Linked DNA regions of Homo sapiens: region 1 is linked to region 2. Evidence: promoter capture Hi-C in human tissues and cell types (Jung and others, 2019). All regions are on one chromosome and are shown on one strand. The core of a region is centred on a gene start or on the middle of the fragment in contact, and the rest is flanking DNA. Distances in the headings are between cores, read along the strand shown. Region 1 has its middle 160 kb from the start of LINC02513. Region 2 holds the start of UGDH (UDP-glucose 6-dehydrogenase).

Region 1 (4,317 bases), core at 1,185-3,684, 1.3 Mb after region 2:
GTTTGTTTGTTTGTTTCTTGAGACAGAGTCTCGCTCTGTCGCCCAGGCTGGAGTGCAGTGGCGCAGTCTCGGCTCACTGCAAGCTCCGCCTCCCGGGTTCACGCCATTCTCCTGCCTCAGCCTCCCAAGTAGCTGGGACTACAGGCACCCACCACCGCGCCCGCCACCACGCCCGGCTACTTTTTTGTATTTTTAGTAGTGACGGGGTTTCACCGTGTTAGCCAGGATGGTCACGATCTCCTGACCTCGTGATCCGCCCGCCTCAGCCTCCCAAAGGGCTGGGATTACAGGTGTGAGCCACTGTGCCTGGCGACCAACATCAAGTTTTAACGCCCATTAATGTGAATTTAAGAGAGTGGGAGTTTACAGAATCCACTGTCAGGACCTGACCTGCAGATAGGATGAAGATACATTGGTTCTGACCATCATGCTTTGCTGACCTCACCACACTATTGTGGGGAAAATCCCTACCATAGCAAGCATTGGGTAAATTATTATCTACTCTTGCACAAAATAAATCAATCAGCTCTACAATCTATTGCTCCAGAAGAGTTCATCTTTTGCCCTAGGTGAGTGTTTGTTATTTGGATATAATTTAAAACACACTGCTTTCAAAAATACTTAATTTGTTTTTATTTTTATGATGCATAAAATTGTGTATCCTGTTTAAAGCAGGGTTTTATGGTGCCAAATAAGTAAACTCCTATTGATGAGAACTTCAAAAACCAAAAGAACACCTGGTCCTGGTAGGGATTAAAACAAACAGAAAAGAGTATTAAATTCTAGGCAAGCAGTACCTTCCTTGTATCACCCAGAAGATAGAGAAACTCAGAAAGAAAACAAAATGCAACAGTGAGAAAGAGATTCACAAAGGTACTTGCTCCCCACAAATTCTGCACCTTCCTCCATGCTTCCTGTTCCCTCTACCAAACCTCCAAGAAGTGAAGGAAAACAGATGAGTTGCTCAATCCATTCGTCTACCTGACTGGGGAATCTAAATGGTAAGTTCTCATGATGTTCCAACCTTCTGAAATACTAGAAGGTTCTATTATCATTATTATTTTCTGCACAATTAAAAGGCACAGCAGAACAAGCATGGCTGGCCATGTGTTAGGCATTCTCTTATCTCTTGAATAGGGAGGGCCTCCTATCAGAAGAATTAAAATCTACCCACGTTTGGATCACTGAAGCCAGGACTTAGATCCAGAAAGGGCAAGAGTACCATGATGGTGCAGAGGGTACGACAATCCTGGTTCAATCCATGCTGCGACTTATGAATTCCCAACTCTGAAGGTGAACTGCAAGTTATTGAGATTTTCTATCTGCCAGGCCCTGTGCCAAGATTTTTACATGCATCATCTCTTGCAGTCCTCACCACTGTCCACTAAGATTTGTATCATTAGTCTCCCCTTTTACAAAAAAGAAACTGAGGCTTGGCCAGGTTTAGTTTACTTGCCCAAGGCAAGTAAATTTAATTTACTTTTAAAAGTAAATTAATTCACAGGACTTGTAAGCTCATGTCTTTTCCACCATGCCACAGGGGCCCCTGAATCAGACCAGCAGTTGTAGCTTTATGAGACTAGGGGGCCAAGTCCACATTTCTGTTCTTCTGCTCCAGCTGGATGGGCTTACCAATTGCCTGGAAGAGGCCAGGTTGGGGAGGAGAATGCCAGCTCTGTCACAGTGAAGCAGTGGGCAGCTGTCTCAGAGCTAGGGAACGAGGGAGAGATGCTGAGGGTCATTCCCATGGCGGTTGGTACGTTAGGTTCTCCCAACCTGTGCTTGTGTATTTTAAAAAATGTTTCCATTAATTTCCTCTTGTTTATTTTGGCCAATTTTAAAGGGTATAAAATTTGGAATCAGAAAAATAAGTGTTTAAACCTGGGTTCTGCAGTACAACGTTGCGTGATTCTGGGAATTGACTTAAGCCCTGAATCCAATCTGAAATGAGGCTCATTGGTCACCCTAACTACACAGAGTTGTTTAGAGACTTAGATAACATCATTCTCTAGAGAAAGGCTTTGTAAGGTGTTATAGATATTATTATTATTTTAATCTTGACCTTCTCATTTTTATACTAGCTACTCCTCCTTTGTTTATGCCTGCCATCAGTTTTATAAAGCAGCCTCTTGTGTCTTCATCCAAGTTGTTCAAAGAGAGATGGGGTGGCTATAGAGAGAGCGAGAGTGAGAACCCCGGACAGGACCTGGCTGAGGACAAAGGTCTATTGTTCAACACCAGCTGCCTCCCTCTGGCTGTCATTAATCAGCACATCTGATTAATGACAGCATAATTTTTTAACCAGCCAGCACTAATCTATTTGTCCTAAATCAGCCAATGTTTCTCAGTCTTCTTCGAAAAGAGATCATGAAAGGGTCTGTCAAATCCCTTGATGAAATCTGAAATTCTAACCTCATGACCGCCCCTTGATCTGGCAGTCCAATTTTCTAACAACGGAAATCAGGTTTGCGGAGCCATGTTCGCCCTCACTGAGCTCATGCTACCCTCCAGATTACCGTTAGCACTGCCCATGAGTCACTTGTTCTAAATGTGTTCTAGAATGTTCCTGGGGGAGTATCCCTCCTCAGGGTGAGAGGACACAGGAGTCCTGATGGCGTGCCAGCTTGGTGAGGAGAGCAGGGAGTCAGGTGCCAGGCTTTGTCTGAGAATCATATACAGGACAGTATGGGTGAGCAGCAGAAATCTACAGACATTCATTTAGGGAGACCCCAAGCTATCAGTGAGGGGACTCAAATCAAAGGCCCAGGGTATAGGCAAGTTGAGAATTAAGGCAGTAGGATTAAGCTATAGGCAAGTTGAGAATTAAGGCATTAAAGAATAGCACCACCACAAGGATATGGAACCAAGACTGGGAGTAGATGGAGTAGCTGAATATATCCATCCAAGCTGAGGGATTAACATGAAGTTCAGATGAATTCCACTAGTCTACTACAGTTCTAGTGTCCAGCCTGATTCATTAGCCCAGCCACAGAGATGGTGGCTTTTTCTCTAGAGTTTGGTTTTTGTTTTGTTTTGTTTTGTTTTTTGTTTTTTTGTTTTTCTTGATAAAGCAACCATCCTTGACACACAAAACTCAAGCTTATCTCATTTCAGAAGTTCACTTTCTCCCACCCCTTGAAAAATGCATCCATTTGCGTGTATCTGGTCTTCCGATGCCTTCCCTATCACCTACAGCTTTTGAAAAATTACTGGCAGCTTTTCTTTCATCACAGCCAGTTCTTTCAGCAGAGTTGAGTCAGGGTTAAGAACATGAGCGTTCCTGCCAGGCAGACCTGGGCACATGCCCCTGATAGTCCATTTATTTCAGTGGGACCTTGAGTCATGAACTGCTTTGAGCCTAAACTCTCTCATTGAATAATAGGAATAATAATAATCTACTTCATAGGATTGCTGTGAGGCTTCAATGAGATGGTGCATGTACAGCATAAGGCCTAGTCCCTGAATACCATGCATGCTCCACATATATTCCTATGGTCAAGTGCATCATTATTCCCAATTGTTCACTGCTGCCAGGATCAACACCCTTTGCCATGGGACTTTGCAGTTCTCATGGGACCTTGCTAGAGATGGAGTGTACAGCCCATCCCACTGGTTTTGGGCTTGAGTGGCTTGTGACTTGATTCAGCCAATGAAATGTGGGCAGAAGAAACAATGTGCCCATAATACACACAGGCCTTATGTATTGTGTATTTCCATTCATCTCATATGTGCTTCTGGCATTGCCAAGAGAAGAACATGCCCCGGAACGCCCACTGGTACCAGAATAATAAAAGACTCCTAGAGCAGACCTCGACCCAATCCACAGCCTAGAGCCATGCCCGGCAGAGCTCAGCCAAGATCAGCCAAACCCCAGTCAGCCCACAAACATATGAACAAGAAATAAGTGTTTATTGCTGCACACCACAGATTTTTGGAAGGGTTTTAAGTGGCATCCTTGTGATAAGAATTTATACTTACCTTGTCCACTGCTTAGAGATTTAAGTTTATTTAAAGCTTAATGGGCTCATTTCCCTTTTACTCCAGTTTCCACCAAGCTTCAATTTAAGGGTAAGAGCATGGGTTTTGGAACCCATGGGCTTGGGAGCAAAGGCTCCCAAGAAAAATGAGCTGCTCTTTCCTTTTCTTGATAAGCTTATTATCCTTTGTGCAATTTGGAGAGCCTCATCTCCAGATCTTTACAGAACAGACAGAGTGAATAGAGTTCATAGGGGTTGAGGCATTTGGCTTTGTCTCAGACTTTTCTGTTCATTCATTCACATTTATGTGGCACCTGGCACACACCAGGCACTGTTCTAG
Region 2 (4,511 bases), core at 1,037-3,536:
GAACCTCTGTCCTAAATCCAAAGGTCCATTCTAGCTGGCACTGAAAATTGACTTAATTTCTGAAATCCTATTAACCGTTTTGAAGAGTCTGATTCTACCAAAATACTAAAAAAGAATGTGAGGTGAATACTAAATAGAAAAATGTTGAATTCAAAATGAAGGGACTAAGATAAGTGGTTTTTATTACAAAGCAAACTGTATTAGATAACTTAAATCTATGTATGTTCAAAAAGATGTACTTGTCATATCTAGTGCAATTACTTGTTTACATATCTCTTCTACCCAACCTGTGAGCTTTGCAAGAAGGAAATGAGTCTTTTTTGTTTGGTTATTTTTCTGAGACAGTGTCTCGTTCTGTTCCCCAGGCTGCAGGGCAGTGGTGTGATCTCGGCTCACTGCAACAGGGAGCCTCCTGAGCAGCTGGGATTACAGGTGCCCACCGCCTCACCCGGCTAACTTTTTGTATTTTTAGTGGAGCCGGGGTTTCACCATGTTGGCCAGGCTGGTCTGGAACTCCTGACCTCAGGTGATCCGCCCGCTATGGCCTCCCAAAGTGCTGGGATTACAGGCGTAAACCACCGTGCCTGGCCAAAGGAATTGAGTCTTAATCCCTTTTGCATCTTCAGTCTTTAGGATAACGTCTGACACACAACAGGCATTAAATATTTGTTGGATGAATGAACTGAACTGCATAGAATGCAGAAAGCCTACATATACTGGCCAGGCACAGTGGCTCACACCTGTAATCCCAGCACTTTGGGAGGCCGAGACGGGCGGATCACCTGAGGTCAGGAGTTTGAGACCAGCCTGGTCAACATAGCAAAACCCGGTCTCTATTAAAAATATAAAAATTAGCCGGGCATGGTTGTGGGCGCCTGTAATCCCAGCTACTCGGGAGGCTGAGGCAGGAGAATCGTTTGAATCTGGAAGGAGGAGGTTGAGGTGAGCCGAGATCGCACCACTGCACTCCAGCCTCGGCGACAAGAGGGAGACTCCGTCTCAAAACAACCAACCAACAAGCCTACATATCCTGCCACACGTGCTACAATCCACAGCAAACTGTTTCATCCACATTCAACCACTTTCTTAAAGTCACCATCATGATCCTATCAAGAAAACCGTAATTTATATGGTATTTTAATGTGCCTTTATAAATTACTAATCACTTTCTTCATGATGTATGTTAAAATGGCTTATGTCACCTGATGTAATCCTTAATGAGGGAAATAAAAGGCCATGATTATGCCTGGCTTTTTTTCTTATATGTTAGATTTGAGTGTTAAAATGACCTCGAAGCGGCGAAAGAAAGGAACGGAACTGCCCTCCACATTAAAAATGAGCAGGCTCCATAGGTTAATTTTACTCTTCCTCACGCACGGCACTTACATGTTGCAAACTCTCTGCTCCACAGCACGCACAGACATCCCAAATCCCGGATTGGGCCTGAGGAACATCTCTGCAAAGAGCGCCAGGAGGGCGTGGGGGTCCCGCCTCTCTCGCCAGGGACCAGGGAGTGGACACTCACTGGTCCAGTCATGAGGAACTCAGCATCCTCCTGACGGGAGGCGCCTCTTTCCCAGAAGCGGTGGGTCAGGAGGAATCTGACTAAACCCTGGGTTGCCGGCCCGGAGGGCGCGGTTGACCCCGGGGCCTCGAGGTTGTGGGCGAGGAGTAATCCGCCCGCCGAGACCGACCCGCAGATCCAGGAGACCGAAACCCGAGGGCGGCGCTCCAGGGTGCTGAGGAGACCGGAAAGGCGGCCAGGACCTTCCGGTCGCCTCGGCCCACCACCCACCCAGTGTCCGCGCAGCCCTAAAGCCTGGCAGACGCGGAGCGCACGCGGCCTTTGCCTCGGCCAGGACAGGGCAGCGGGGAGAGGGCTGCTAGACAACAATTCTTGACCCCTCCTCGACCCACGACCGCCAGGTAGGCGCGCAAAGCTCCTACACCTGCGGCGCGCCCCCGTCCCCTGGTCCAGCGGACACGCCACGCACGCAGCCCCGCCCAGCGCCGCTCGCGGTAGGGGCGGAGCCGCTGAGCTGGCCAAAGCGGATTTGCCCAGCTAGGCCAGGGGCGGGGCAGGCCCTCCCAGCCAGGACCAGCCCCAGTCTCCCCGCCCCTGAGCCGTGAAGGAAATAGGGACCTGGCCCTGGGCCTTGTGTAGCGGGAGGGGGAGCTAGGAAGCAGCTGAGGGCAGAATCCAGGAGGGCCTGGCTGCGGGGGAATGAAGCCTCCGCCTTCGCAGGCAAAAGCCTTTAAATACGGGCTCAGGCCCGGGACTCAGAGTGTAACGCGTGGCAGCCTGAGGGAGGGGCGTGCGCCGAGAGGGAGCTCAGATCGAGCGGGGCGCGGGTGGAGAAGCTGCGGCGGCGCGGCCCGTAGGAAGGTGCTGTCCGAACGATCGGGATAGGAGCGGTCCCTGCGCTTGCTGCTGGGAAGTGGGTAAGCGCCGCTCCCAGGCTGGCCCCGCCGCCCGGGCGGGATGCTCCCAGGTCTGGGCGGGATGTGGAGGGAGCGGGGCTGGGGTGTGCGCGCTGCTCCCGGTCGCTCGCTGCGCTGGGTCCCGGGCTTCCCGTCTCACGACCTTCGTCTCTTTGGGGCTTAGGGCGGGAACCGCATTTTGGAACTGCTGTCCTGGGGATGTGGTCGTCTGGGCTTCTTATTCAAGACTCGTGAGTCTTCCAGCCCCTTCTCTTTCTGCCTTTACCCACTTTCCTGACTTGGATGAGATTTCCCTGCCGCCTCCAAAGCCGAACGCCCACCACAGGAAGCGGTTCTCTCGTTGGGGACCTCATTTTGGCCGCAGAGTCGTAGTCTTTTGTTTGTGTTTAAGAGTCTGCTCACCTGAGGGGCTCCTGCTTTTCTCATGCCGCCCCTCTTAAGAAACCAAAGAGAAACGAAGCCAGAAAGCCCTCTTGAGAGCAAAATACTAAGACTGCCGTGATATCTGTCCGGGATGTCCTGGAATCCATTGTTGGCCCCCTACACCACAGAATTGCTCTGTTTGATGTCGGGGAAGGCCTTTCCTGGGTGCCTCGGGAGACCATGTTTGTGTGAGATCTTGAAAAATTATACGTCCTATAAATATATAGGAAGATAACTTAGTAGGGTTAGGAATTCTAGTATAGAGAAAAGAGGGGTTCGCTGGTAGGGATCTATTCATGGGCATACAGAGCAGTAGCTGTCTATCGACAGACCTCAAAGACACAGTGAGCCTTTGAGTTTCTTCAAATCCCTTAAGAAATGGAGAACAGTAGTCTTTCTTCAGGGGGGTTCTGGAAATGAAAGAGCTGACTGTCTGCTCTGAGATGTGCTTATTAGTGGCCAGGATCCAGTTTAAGGTAAGGGGTAGACAACCCTGATTGAAAAGATCTCATTTCTTCTCCCGTTGCTGTACTCCTTTTTCTAACAAAATCTATAACTGGATAAGCATAATCCATCTTCCTTCTTGTTTACTTCCACAGCTTTACATGATAACCCTTAGACATAAAATTAATACCGGCTTTCTTACTGATTAAATATTTTTCTCTGGTCAGGCATCTTTTACTGTTTAATTTCTGGAAATGATTAAAATGTGTGAAGCTGATGTATCCAACTATAATGCCCATCGTTAGCTCCTGGGTACCTATGCAAAATATGCTGTAGAGAGCTGGGGCTAGAAGGATTATATTCCGTTTAGATTGTAGTAGGGCATTTGTTATTTGTTAGTGACCCCTTCTGGGTTGGAATGTTTATTTGAATTTATGAAATTTTACATGAAGAGTAGTTTTGGAACGGTTTGGTTTGTTGTGACTCTCCCAAAATACAGAGGTAAAAACTCATTTCAAAATAACCCATTTAATAAGGAAACACTCCTATGTCTCTGACAGCAGAATAGAGGGCCAGAGGGTACATAAAAGTAGAAATAGAAAATGGGGGCCGGGCGTGGTGGCTCACGCCTGTAATCCCAGCACTTTGGGAGGCCGAGACGGGCGGATCACGAGGTCAGGAGATCGAGACCATCCTGGCTAACATGGTGAAATCCCGTCTCTACTAAAAATACAAAAAAAAATTAGCCGGGCGTAGTGGCGGGCGCCTGTAGTCCCAGCTACTCGGGAGGCTGAGGCAGGAGAATGGCATGAACCTGGGAGGCAGAGCTTTCAGTGAGCCGAGATTGCGCCACTGCACTCCAACCTGGGCAACTGAGCGAGACTACGTCTCAAAAAAAAAAAAGAAAAAGAAAAGAAAATGGGGCTGGGCGCAGTGGCTCACGCCTGTAATCCCAGCACTTTGGGAGGCCAAGGTGGATGGATCACCTGAGGTCAGGAGTTCGAGACCAGCCTGACCAATATGGTGAAACCCCGTCTCTACTAAATATATAAAAACTAGCTGGGCGTGGTGGTGGGCACCTGTAATCCCAGCTACTCGGGAGGCTGAGGCAGGAGAATTGCTTGAACCCAGGAGACGGAGGTTGCAGTGAGCCGACATGGTGCCACTGCACTCCAGCCTCGGTGACAGTGAGACTCCGTCTC

Evidence for each region. Contacts are between HindIII fragments. The study calls those that stand out against the background at their distance.
Region 1: a contact is called between a fragment that was not itself captured here and the fragment with the promoter of UGDH in region 2, in 1 of the 25 tissues and cell types used here (heart right ventricle).

Annotation. Positions count from the first base shown.
Region 1 is chr4:38,202,777-38,207,093 of GRCh38, reverse strand. No RefSeq gene overlaps it. Among named protein-coding and RNA genes, the nearest start is that of LINC02513, 160 kb to the left of the region's middle. The HindIII fragment of the contact is 3,341 bases long and covers 764-4,104 here.
Region 2 is chr4:39,525,214-39,529,724 of GRCh38, reverse strand. UGDH (UDP-glucose 6-dehydrogenase) reads left to right here and starts at 2,286. Exons shown (of 12, transcript NM_003359.4): 1 at 2,286-2,442. UGDH-AS1 (UGDH antisense RNA 1) reads right to left here and starts at 1,886. Exons shown (of 5, transcript NR_047679.1): 1 at 1,387-1,886. RefSeq lists an enhancer at 1,402-1,461 and silencers at 1,842-2,141, 2,392-2,571. The HindIII fragment of the contact is 14,033 bases long and covers 1-4,511 here.